Regions from separate parts of the Homo sapiens genome. Here all the other regions are linked to region 1. The links are contacts of gene promoters, found by promoter capture Hi-C in blood cells and fetal thymus (Javierre and others, 2016). All regions are on one chromosome and are shown on one strand. The core of a region is centred on a gene start or on the middle of the fragment in contact, and the rest is flanking DNA. Distances in the headings are between cores, read along the strand shown.

Region 1 (2,700 bases), core at 59-2,558:
ATACAGTACAACACAGTGTCTCTTAGGAAAGGAACTGCTGCAGGATTTGAGACAATGAGCGTTTAGTACAGCCCAGTGTTCTTGATTTCTCATTAGGAGCAACTTTCCAGGGCACTGAAGCGAACCAGGAAAAGAAATGGGGAGGGTAAGCCAAAGGGGTCGCTGCTCTTCAGTGTCAAGTTGGAAAGAGCTTGCTGCGATCAATTATGCTGAGAAGGTAGGGCCTTGAGAGGGAAGGAAGGATAGAAAAAAACAGTTTTACAGGGCGCTGAAAAAAGTGATAGAAGAGAGGTAGAACTGCTTCCTCCATCTTTCACGTCAAGTTCAAGTTTTTCTTTTTGTTCTATAAGAACTTTTGTCTTTATGGTGCTTGCTGCGGTTTGCTGATGTAGTTCCCAGGTCCTGCCTTCCTCTGGTGACTTATTAACGGACTGGCAACGGCTGAGTAAAATGCACTTAAGAAAAAAGAAATCACCTCTCTTTGCCAAGACTCACATGCTGCCCAGTACCTGAGGGAGAGCTCCGTTGTCGCTGGCCAAGAGAAATTCCAGTTTAACCTATGCCTCCCCTAGCCAAATCCATTGCAAATAAATGTGTGTGTGCCACTTGCAGAGAATCTGCCTGACTCACCCCCCGCCTTTGGCGTGCCAGGGAGAGATGTAAATGCTCCGTCCTGGAGCTGGCAGTGAAGTGGGGGCCGCGGCCTCGGTAGCACCAAGAGTCCCCAAATCTCCCCCTGTGATGGGTTTAGGGATGTGTTCCTCTCAAGCAGGTGCCTGGTCACAGGGCGACCACCCAGGCTCACAGCAACACACGTGTCACTGAGCCCGAGCCCAGCCCGCCGCAGAACTGGCCCCGCAGTCCTCGTAAAGACGCCCAGTTGCGCGCAGGGGACTTAGCAGTGAGGGAGAAGCAGACCACCCAAACTCTTCCTCTAAACCCTAAGAAGGAAAAAAAATACTTTTCCGCGGAAGCAGCCTCCACACACCGCCCGCGCCCAGCTCAGGGGATGCCCGGCCCGCAATTGACCTCTCTCTCCCTCCCAGGAGCGCGCTGAGGCCGCCTGCGCGCCCTACGGAATCGGCCCCCGGGCCCGCGCCCGCCTCCGCCTTGGAGCGAGGGACCCCATCGACCCTCCCGGCAGCTGCCGGGGCCGGGCGCTCACCTCCTGGGGTCTGGCTTCCGTCGCTCCTCCAGTTTGGCGGCGGAGTGTGGGGCTGCAGCGGCCACTGCCACTGCCGCCGCCGCCGCCGCCTTCGCTGCCACCGCGGCCGCCGCCGCCACCGAAGCGCTGCCCGGCGCGCCGCCGGGGTTGGAGGCTGGGGGGCCGCGGAATCCCTGGAGGCGCGAGCCCGGGACGCGGCGGGGCCGAGCCGCGGGAAGTTGTCTGCGCCGGGCGCGGAGCGAGCGGGGCGCCAGTCACCCGCGCCCAAGTAGTCACAACTTTGCCGCCTGGGTGGGTGCGCGCTCCGGAGAGAGGCGAGCGCGGGAGAGCGGGGCAAAGGCGCTGGGGCGGGAGGGTCTTCGGAGCAGGCAGGACTGCAACCTGAACGGCCCGCGAGGAAAGGGGAAAGGTGGCGCGGGGGGATGTCTACACAGCCTGTGTGGTGCGCGGCGAGCGAGTGTGTAAGAGCGCGGGCGTCTACTCTACTTTGCCTCCTGCAGCTCCTGCATATTTATGGGGATCTCTGATGTTCCTGCTAGTAACTAACACTGCAGCAGTGGAGCCCAGCCCAGGCGCCCCTCGGGAGCAAGCCGGGGTGCGGGGGCTCACGGAAGGCGGCCGCGGCGGAGGCTGTGCCGCGAGCGCGAGCCTGCGATCCATATTTAAAGCCGTAAGTGGCCTCGGCCGGCCCCCTGCCCTGCCCTCGCTCGTGCCCGCCAGCCCGGCCCCCACCGCTCCGGGCCGCTGCTCGGCGTCAGCCGCCCGGGCATCGGCGGCGGGGAGGGGCCTCGAGCCGCGCCGCCTCCGCCGGGGGCTTGGGCTCTGTGCGCAGCGCCCGCCCGGAGCTGGCGGAGGACCCGGCTCCGGACCGGCCGCTCTTGCCTCCCAGGTTCCTTTTCTCTCACGCCCTGGGCTGGGTCCTAGGTCCAGCTTTTTGTCCTACTCAAAAGAGTTCCCCAGTGGGGAGAGCCTGTGCTTTCATGCAGAACTAAAATTGCGTGAGTTTCCCAGCTCAGATCACTCTTGACTCTACTTTATAAAACTTGGGGCGTATAGAGTGCTGCCATAACACAGTATTAAGTAATTGTTCACCTTTAACAAAAGATGTCTGAAGATAACGTGGTTGTCAACTGTGTCCTTCACTTATGTCACTGATGCCTTTCTGTCTTCCTTGGGAGTTAGGAAAACAGCCTTAGCAAAGTGATTATTTGTATTTATTCTGTTCCTAAGTCTAATAATGAGGTTCAAGTACTCTTTGCCAAGCAAATAATATATCAGTGATCCAGCACCATTGCCATTGGTAAACTATTGAATCATAAGTAAACCATTAAGATATGAACAGACTGTCAGCACAGACACACCATCTATTGTTCTGGGTACTGCTAGAGAGTAGTCACTTAATGGATTGCAACCACATGGTATATCATGCAAGTGTATATCATTTTCTAGTAATACATATTATATGTAATGTGTATGTGGACATCACTGACCAAACTGTGTTTTCAACAGTAGCCACCAAAATGCATAAAGCTCAA
Region 2 (2,700 bases), core at 1-2,500, 560 kb after region 1:
TTTTAAGAAAGTATACAATTAAAGAAGCTTCTCAGGCAGTTTAACTTTTAAGTCAGAATTTTATTTTGAGAATAATCAATAGAGAATCATAGAAAATAAAAGTCTGATCTACTGTAAAGTTTTTGAATGTTCTGTTCTATTCTTTTTGAGTTCAGGATTTGAGAACATGAGAATTATGTGACAAGATGATTCATCTTTCTGATATGTATTGAATTTGATTAATGATCTGGGATATGAGTCATGTGAAAGGTATTTCTATTTTTAAGCATCTACCTTCTAATAACCCTTGGTACAATTGGTCACTTTTGCTAGCTAAAAAACTTAGCAGATAAGGTAACATCAACTAGATTTTAACACAAATCCACATCTACCTTGAAAAGGAACACTGAAGTACATAGGTAGGCTGATGGCTGGGGAAATTACTACTTTGCCTCGATTTGAGAGTTTAAGACTTTCAAATCTCCCTCTTTTTACCTTTTTCATAAGAAATATTATATATGAGACAATTTTCCAATATTCTCCTTTTTAGTAAATGTGTAGGATAGGACTCTGGATAACTTCTCCTCTGAGACTGAACGTACATACCTCCTCACTTTTACTGCTAAATCCAGGCATTCGGGGCATGTGCATCTGGAAGTAAGAGAATGTCAGTGACAAATGCAGAACATCAGTTGAAATAAGCTCAACAATTGTTCCTAACGGAACACAAAGAGAAGAGCTAACATTTAAAAAATACTCACTGGCATAGCAACAGAATTACCAAGAAGCCCTAGAAAGACCAGGAGAATCTTCATTTTGCCTTTTGGTACCTAGAATAAAAAATTGATTTTTATTTTTGGTCTGTGAAATAAGTATGCTTAGGGCACTCTGCACTTATCTAAGTACTAGCCTACTTGTCTGTCAAGGAGAGTATGGAAATGGATGGGGCCCCTGCTGCCAGTTTTATTTTATGTCAAGAAACTATTAGATAGTTATCATCTGGTACTTTTCAAGCTGCCAAAAGAGTCAGATTAAAAGGAAATATAAGTGTGTGTGCGTGAGAGAGAGAGACAGGGAAAGAGAGAGACAGGGAAAGAGAGAGAGACAGAGAGAGAGAGAAAGAGAGAGATATCATAGCACCAGAATGTGAAAATTAGAAATTAGGAGGTTATCCCCCAAATAGGAATATTAATGGGTTTGAGTTTCTAGTTACTAGTTGATTTATAAAGAAATAGTGATGTCCAACTACATTCATTGTACAGAATAATCTCAGTTTCAAGGAGGGCACACTCCAAAATCAAAACTTTGTGCTACTTTCTAAGATGTTATAGATAATATTCTGTTATATAGAGACTAAGTAAACTGGAATATGCAGAATCTTATTTTTTTCCTGGTTTCCTCTATTGTTCCTGTTATTATTATTATCATCATCATCACTTCCTTTAAAAATCACTTATGTGGCCAGGCGCGGTGGCTCACGCCTTAATCCCATCACTTTGGGAGGCTGAGGTGGGTGGATCCCCTGAGGACAGGAGCTTGAGACCAGCTGAGCCAACATGGTGAAACCTTGTCTCTACTAAAAATACAAAAATTAGCCGGGTGTGGTGTCTCACACCTGTAATACCAGCCACTTGGGAGGCTGAGGCAGGAGAATCGCTTGAACCCAGGAGGAGGAGGTTGCAGTGAGCCAAGATCGTGCCATTGCACTCCAGCCTGGGCGACAGAGTGAGACTCTGTCTCAAAAAAAAAAAAAAATCACTTATGCTCTAAGATGGTCAGGAAAATAGGAAGAAATAGGAAATAGGCAGAATAGTAAATTTATCTCTTTATTAGATACCTTGATTAAACATATAGACTTATGTATGAAGTTTGGAGATTGTTTTTAACGGGGTTCATTCATTTATCCCACTCTAGTTAATTATGAAAGACTTGTAAAATTAAGTCTCGTATTTACATCTTGGAACAAGGTTTATTCTGAAACATTTACTTGAGTAATTTCTTAAGAAAACTTTCTATTTGCATATACAATAGAGGAAAATAAAAGGTTTTAATCAGAATGATTCATTTTCATCGTATATCAGATATAGTCCATTTCCTAGCAGAGTAACCAACATGTAGACACTCAGTTGTTTTCATTCCTTTCATTCTTTCTTCCTTTTCTGGACATAAAATCTATCTAGCATAATTGGAGCCAATGCTCACCCTTCTGTTTACTTCCTATAGGAGCAACATAAATGACGCTTTAGCATTTTTATAATGGACATTTTCCTAAATTGTGGGTGTAATCAGTTATCTTTCATACATTAGAAAAATTGGCAGAATGTAATTAAACAAAGGAAGCAGTAGTATGTAAATACCTTTCCTACTATTTAAAGATTTTCAGAGTTAGAACATCATAGAGAATGAAAATAACAGCTGAATGTTATTTTAGAGTGTTTAGTATAGGTTACAACAATATGTGGAAACTAATAAAGAGAATACTGGTGAAAGCTTTCTTTGCTAAATGTTTCTAAGATTATGGCCCAAGATTTAAGGGTGCTTTTGGATGGTTAATTTCTGCCTTGCTTAATCATTCATCTCATCTCTCTAGTAGCTGTCACAGTGATTCTTGATAATATATGTAGCCTTTATATTTGCAAATAGAAAACTCATTTTCTCTTTTGTAAAATTAATATATTATGTTGGATGACTGAGATCCCTTCCATCTCTAAAAGTTAGTGA
Region 3 (2,730 bases), core at 189-2,688, 570 kb after region 1:
AAAGCGTGCTAGACATATAACTTCAGGGTTGATCTTTTTTATGTCAGTTTTTCCAAAACACATCTTTAAATAACACCCATACATTTCTAGTTTGTGAATAAATTAGAATGCAAATCCACATTCACTCTGAAAAACCCACGGTCATTTCCTTCTCTGTGCTCGCTAGAGCTTATCTTTAAGTAATTATCAAACCGGTTGTTAGGCGCGGGTCTCCAGCTGGAAAGCTGCTGAACCCTGGGGAAAGATGAAAGTGCAGGGAGACAGCTGAAGGCATCAGCAAAAGTTATTATGACAAACAGCTTTATAATAATCATTCCTCAAAGCTGGAATTTGTGTTTCTAACGTCTGGCTTCTGTGAAGTGTGGTTGCTGCTGTTTCTACTTTACCCCCAGTCTCTAATGTTTATGGAAGAAAGAAATCAACTAAACTTCTGGTTTGATCTTTCTCTTTGTAAAATGCAGCAGTCTGTCTGTTGATGTCACTTGACTGGTAGCCACATACTGTCTATAGAAGTCAACTTTTTTAGTACTGAGAAGTTTTGGAAGGAAGAGAAACACACTTAGAAGTTCAAAGCTTTTATGTGTTTAAGACTCATTTTCCCAAAGACAATGTTATTGAGTTCTAGAAAAATTCAGACACTTAGCCTGGGTCAGTTTAAATATTTGCTTCATCTTGTATAACACTCCACATTGGTGGGTATTTAAATGATTAGATGAGGGTTGCTTAACTTTAGGTCCGTGAATGAACTTTAGGCTGTCTGAGTAATCGCTGACATTGTAGGCAGAATTTTACGTGTTGTTTCCATTTACGTTTTTGGGAATAATAATTCACAGCTTTCATTAGGTTCTCAAAAGAATACTTCAGTGCTGTGGAGGATCTGTGTGGACGAGTGACAAATGGGAAATCCAGAGGCTTGGGTTCTTCTGCCTCCAATAGCAGCCAAAACTTCAAAAAAGACCTTACTCTTCTGGACTTTTAGTCTCCTCACCCATAAATGAGGAGGTTGAATTAAATCAATCAATGTTTTCCCAAAGTTCATTCATGTACATAGTCATTTATGGACTGTCTTTATGATTATTGCCATATCCAATCACAACCTGTTCTATTTACTTAATATTTTTTCTTACATCTCATCACTTAAGAAAATCTATTTTAAAAGAAATCTGTTTTGTGCGTCTGTAAATGGAAAACCAGCATCACATGAGGTAAATTTTAAAAATGTTATTAATTTACTACATAAAGATTATTGTCTTTACACCAATGGTAGGTGTGCCACACCTGACACATTGGCATAATGGATGTACAGTCATACCTTGGTATCTGTGGGGGATTGCCAGGACCTCCCTGAGGATACCAAAATCTGCAGATGCTCGAGTCCTTTATATAAAATGAAATAGTATTTGCATATATCCTATGTACATACTCCCAAATACTTTAAGTCAACTCTAGATTTCTTATGATACTTAATACAATGTAAATGCTCTGTGAATAGTTTTAACACTGTATTGTTTAGAGAATAATGACAAGAAAAACAGTCTGTACATGTTCATTGTAGATCCAATGACATTTTTCATTTGCAGTTGGTTGAATCCACAGATGAAAAACCCCTGGATATGGAGGGCTGACTGTATTGCATTTACTCCTCTAGATTCACTCTTCACCCTTTTCTACTCAGAAGAGCCCAGACAACGCTTTCTTCACTAAGGCATTAAGAAACGAAGACTGTAGTTTTTCTCTGTGGACCAGATATGATAACGAGGGATGCTGCTTTTGAATTTCAATGGGAAAAATAGGAGTCTGAAATAGTAGACAGAGGCCAGGGGGTGGTGCTTATCTTTCAGAGACAAGGATGCAATGACCAATAAGCCACAGGATGGAATGCTAAGCAGCATGTTTTGACCAATAGGGTTCTGTATGATGGCTACTTCATCACAGGTCTATAGGAAAAAATAGATAGACATCCTGTCCTACATTGATTGTCCACTTTCCGCTTGACATAAATGTGCTGCTTGACATAAAAAGACAAAAAAAAAATTCTACATTCACTGAGCCTAACTCAAATTGCTGTGGTGGGATGTATAGTTTCTTATCTAGTTTCCAGACCTAAAGCCCCTCAACTGAGGGGACATCAGGTTCCTATGAGGAAGAACCTTGAAATGTGGCCAAATTGTATACCATGATAGTTTCCCTAAGCCACTATCAGAGGGACCTGAGGCAATTAAGTAGGGAGAATGTGTAAGATGGGGGGTTATTAGGAAGTGGTTCTGAACCTTAAAAGCCTCATATTTACTGGTTAAAGCTTATAGAAGTAAGATGAGAAACAGATTTTTTTTTTTTTTTTTTTTTGAGATGGAGTCTTGCTCTGTCACCCAGGCTGGAGTGCAGTGGCGCGATCTCGGCTCACTGCAACCTCCACCTCCTGGGTTCAGGCAATTCTCCTGCCTCAGCCTCCTGAGTAGCTAGGATTACAGGCACACACCACCACACCCAGCTAATTTTTGTATTTTTAGTATAGATGGGGTTTCACTATGTTGGCCAAGCTGGTCTCAAACTCCTCACCTCAAGTGATCCACCTGCCTTGGTCTCCCAAAGTGCTGGGATTACAGGTGTAAGCCACTGCACCCGGCCTTTTTTTTAATTTATTTTTTATTTTGATCTTTATTTTTTGAGACAGGATCTCACTCTGTCACCCAAGCTGGAGTGCAATGGCGTGATCACAGCTCACTGCAA
Region 4 (2,700 bases), core at 83-2,582, 600 kb after region 1:
CGGCTATCACTTACCGCTTTTGGATTGCAAGACTGACATCTGAGCAACTATGGCTTTTGACTCAATAGGACTAAACCACTGGATTAAATCAAGTGAGTCTATGCGTGGACTCTCAGTCCATATCCCTTCAGTGTTGTTTGGAGTTCGACAATCAATAACCTTTTCTGGGACACACTCTAAAGACTGACTTACCGGCACTGCAAAACTCATTTCCAGGAGGCATAGGATCAGTATCAGGTCCTTCATTTTGAAAAGTGGAATCTAAAACATAATTAAGTTGGAGAATTAAATCAGATGAATTTTTATTCAGAATGGTTAAAAGACAATTTTTGAAAATGAGCCTGAGTCTCTGCTCTTACAAAAACCACCGGGATAAAGGTTAGAAGAACAAAAACAAAAACTAAATGTTACTAAACAACCGATTTGTATGTAGTAGTTTCTGAAATAAATTAACAAGCAATTAAAAAATATCTAAGCACGTTTTAAATGGATCTACAGCCTAAATAAGTATGTAGGAACAACCTCCATCGATATTCTTTGTGATATATTTCATTTCATAAAGTGAATTATGAGTTTAAAAATCCTTCCCACTAAGTAAAATATTGGTCTATAAGGTATTATTCACAGAAGTTTATACTTTGCTTACCCTTTGGGACACATTTTGAAATGCATGTGAAATGTAATGCAACTAAGTCATTTTATAACAAACCTTTATTTGCAGGAATAGAGGGTACATCATTGCATGTTTAGGTAATCTACGTAACCATGACAAAATTTTTCTTTTCAAATGAGAGTAAATTGGCTATCTTAATTTTCTTTGATGTTAGTGGAAAATATGTCTCAAATTTAGCTTTCCTCTTCCTAAAATGAATTATCTTTTAAAATTTATTCTATAAATTCAAAAAGCTCTTTATTCTTACATGAATAGAGATCTGAATAGCCTAGAAATTTACTCATCTTCTAATATTAAAAAGAATTAGGCACTATAATCAAAAACATTAAAAAAAACACAATCTATAAATAAAAGTCTTTTTTTTTTTCTTAGTTGAATGGGTGTTAGGCATGTCATCTCTGGGACATGCTAATGGATTACAACAAGCAATAATTCAGCTACTGGTGACAAATGAAGATAAATCCTCTTTATAAAAGCTGTCAGGAGATAGGAAAAAAAGAATTTACAGGAAACACATGGAAATCATAAAATCCCATTTTACCTTAGATGCTGACATGCACTGTGCTCTCAGGGCCTGATGATGCCAACCAAGATAGTTCTAAGAAAAGAAGATTAAAATTTTTTTCAGGACTGTGCGTGGGACTTGCTCTGTACTTCTCATTCAGGGAAGATTAGAAACCTTTATTTAAAGTGCCAATCCACCAATCAAAGTGAAGCAAAATGGCGAGGGGTGGCGGGGGGGAGTTGGGGCGGGAATCTCTGCTCCTGCAATTAGTCCACACCCTTTTATTGCGTGCAGGGACATTGGCCCAGTAGGGTCTCATTATTTTTAATTGTACTGCAGCCCCTGTACTTATTCAGAGAACTTGATAGCAGGGAAGGCAGTAAAGGAATAATGGACATAGGCTCTGAAGACAATTATTTTGGTGAGCTGGGGAAAATATATGTAAAATAGGTGCAAAACAAAACCTGTTTTGTGCAGGTTTTATCTGCAGATAAAGCTAGTGACCCAATGCTAGCATTCTTCAGGTTTTCACCCTCCTGTTTGTTGTAGTAAAAGAGACTACTGTCCTTCCCCCCAGCACACACAGAGTTTAAAAGAAAACACTAAAATGTTAGATGGAAAATTAATGTGTGTGATTTCTTCCTTGAATTTCCTAGATATTTTCATATCTGGAGATAATTGATTAGAGATAGCCAAGCTTTTGTAAGAAACTACAGTTGGACCCTTTGCAAGAATCAGGTTTACTTCAGGTAAACGTTTGGTGCATTTTAAAAAAAATCTGTGGGGACGGGGACGTAAATCAGAACATTCTCTATGAACCAAATCAATGGGCACAAGTGTCAGTTCACTCTTCAGATAGACACATTCCCAGGCATTAGTATCAAGCCAGGTTAATAAGACATATTTCGATCACTTAAAAGGTTAACGTCAACACAGATTGGTTTTTCTCCGTGAACAGATAATATCTTGGATGTGGATTGAATATTAGCTGCTTTTGTTACTTCTCTGCCCATCCTTGTCTTTCCAAAGTTGTGATTTCAGATATGGTAGGGATAAGCATTTAAGATTAGTTCTGAAGAAGGGATGAGTCAGTACACTCTTTAGGGAAGTAGGGATCTTGTCAATTACAGGGAACATTGAGGAAGCTGGTATTTTGAGAGAAAGCTGTATCCATACCCAAATGTAGGCCTAACAGCTTCAAATAATGTTATCTTAGAAGCTGCTCCTGAAAACCTCTGTGTTCCACTGATACCAGAATTATCTTTAGGATGCAAAGAAATGAAGAATGTGAATGTGTTTTGCAAACAGCAAAATGTTATTGAAATGAAAAGTATTATTTTTCATGCTGTCTCTGGTGCTTGATGCAGTCCCTTAATCTCTTTTGAGCCCCAGTTCCTTCTTCTGTTATGTAAGGATAATAATTAATGACCACAAGCTAGTCTTTTTTTTTTTTGAGACGGAGTCTCGCTGTGTTGCCCAGGCTGGAGTGCAGTGGTGTGATCTCAGCTCACTACAACCTCCG

Evidence for each region. The method cuts DNA at HindIII sites, captures the fragments that hold promoters and counts their contacts. A CHiCAGO score of 5 or more calls a contact.
Region 2: a contact is called between a fragment that was not itself captured here and the fragment with the promoter of SLC4A4 in region 1, in 1 of 17 cell types (fetal thymus). The highest score is 5.4, in fetal thymus.
Region 3: a fragment that was not itself captured here is called in contact with the fragment with the promoter of SLC4A4 in region 1 in 1 of 17 cell types (fetal thymus); the score reaches 9.2 in fetal thymus.
Region 4: the fragment with the promoter of AMBN here is called in contact with the fragment with the promoter of SLC4A4 in region 1 in 1 of 17 cell types (fetal thymus); the score reaches 6.8 in fetal thymus.

What each region holds. Positions count from the first base shown.
Region 1 is chr4:71,185,867-71,188,566 of GRCh38, reverse strand. SLC4A4 (solute carrier family 4 member 4) reads right to left here and starts at 1,308. Exons shown (of 26, transcript NM_001098484.3): 1 at 1,166-1,308. It overlaps LOC124900712 (a long non-coding RNA gene), which reads left to right and starts at 2,043. Exons shown (of 2, transcript XR_007058133.1): 1 at 2,043-2,700. The HindIII fragment of the contact is 10,115 bases long and covers 1-2,700 here.
Region 2 is chr4:70,629,779-70,632,478 of GRCh38, reverse strand. It overlaps ENAM (enamelin), which reads right to left. Exons shown (of 9, transcript NM_031889.3): 3 at 741-809; 4 at 586-630. Among named protein-coding and RNA genes, the nearest start is that of ENAM, 2.4 kb to the right of the region's middle. The HindIII fragment of the contact is 2,442 bases long and covers 30-2,471 here.
Region 3 is chr4:70,611,101-70,613,830 of GRCh38, reverse strand. No RefSeq gene overlaps it. Among named protein-coding and RNA genes, the nearest start is that of ENAM, 16 kb to the left of the region's middle. The HindIII fragment of the contact is 1,726 bases long and covers 576-2,301 here.
Region 4 is chr4:70,590,888-70,593,587 of GRCh38, reverse strand. AMBN (ameloblastin) reads right to left here and starts at 1,332. Exons shown (of 13, transcript NM_016519.6): 1 at 1,215-1,332; 2 at 193-261. The coding sequence starts at 1,229. The HindIII fragment of the contact is 2,262 bases long and covers 1-1,877 here.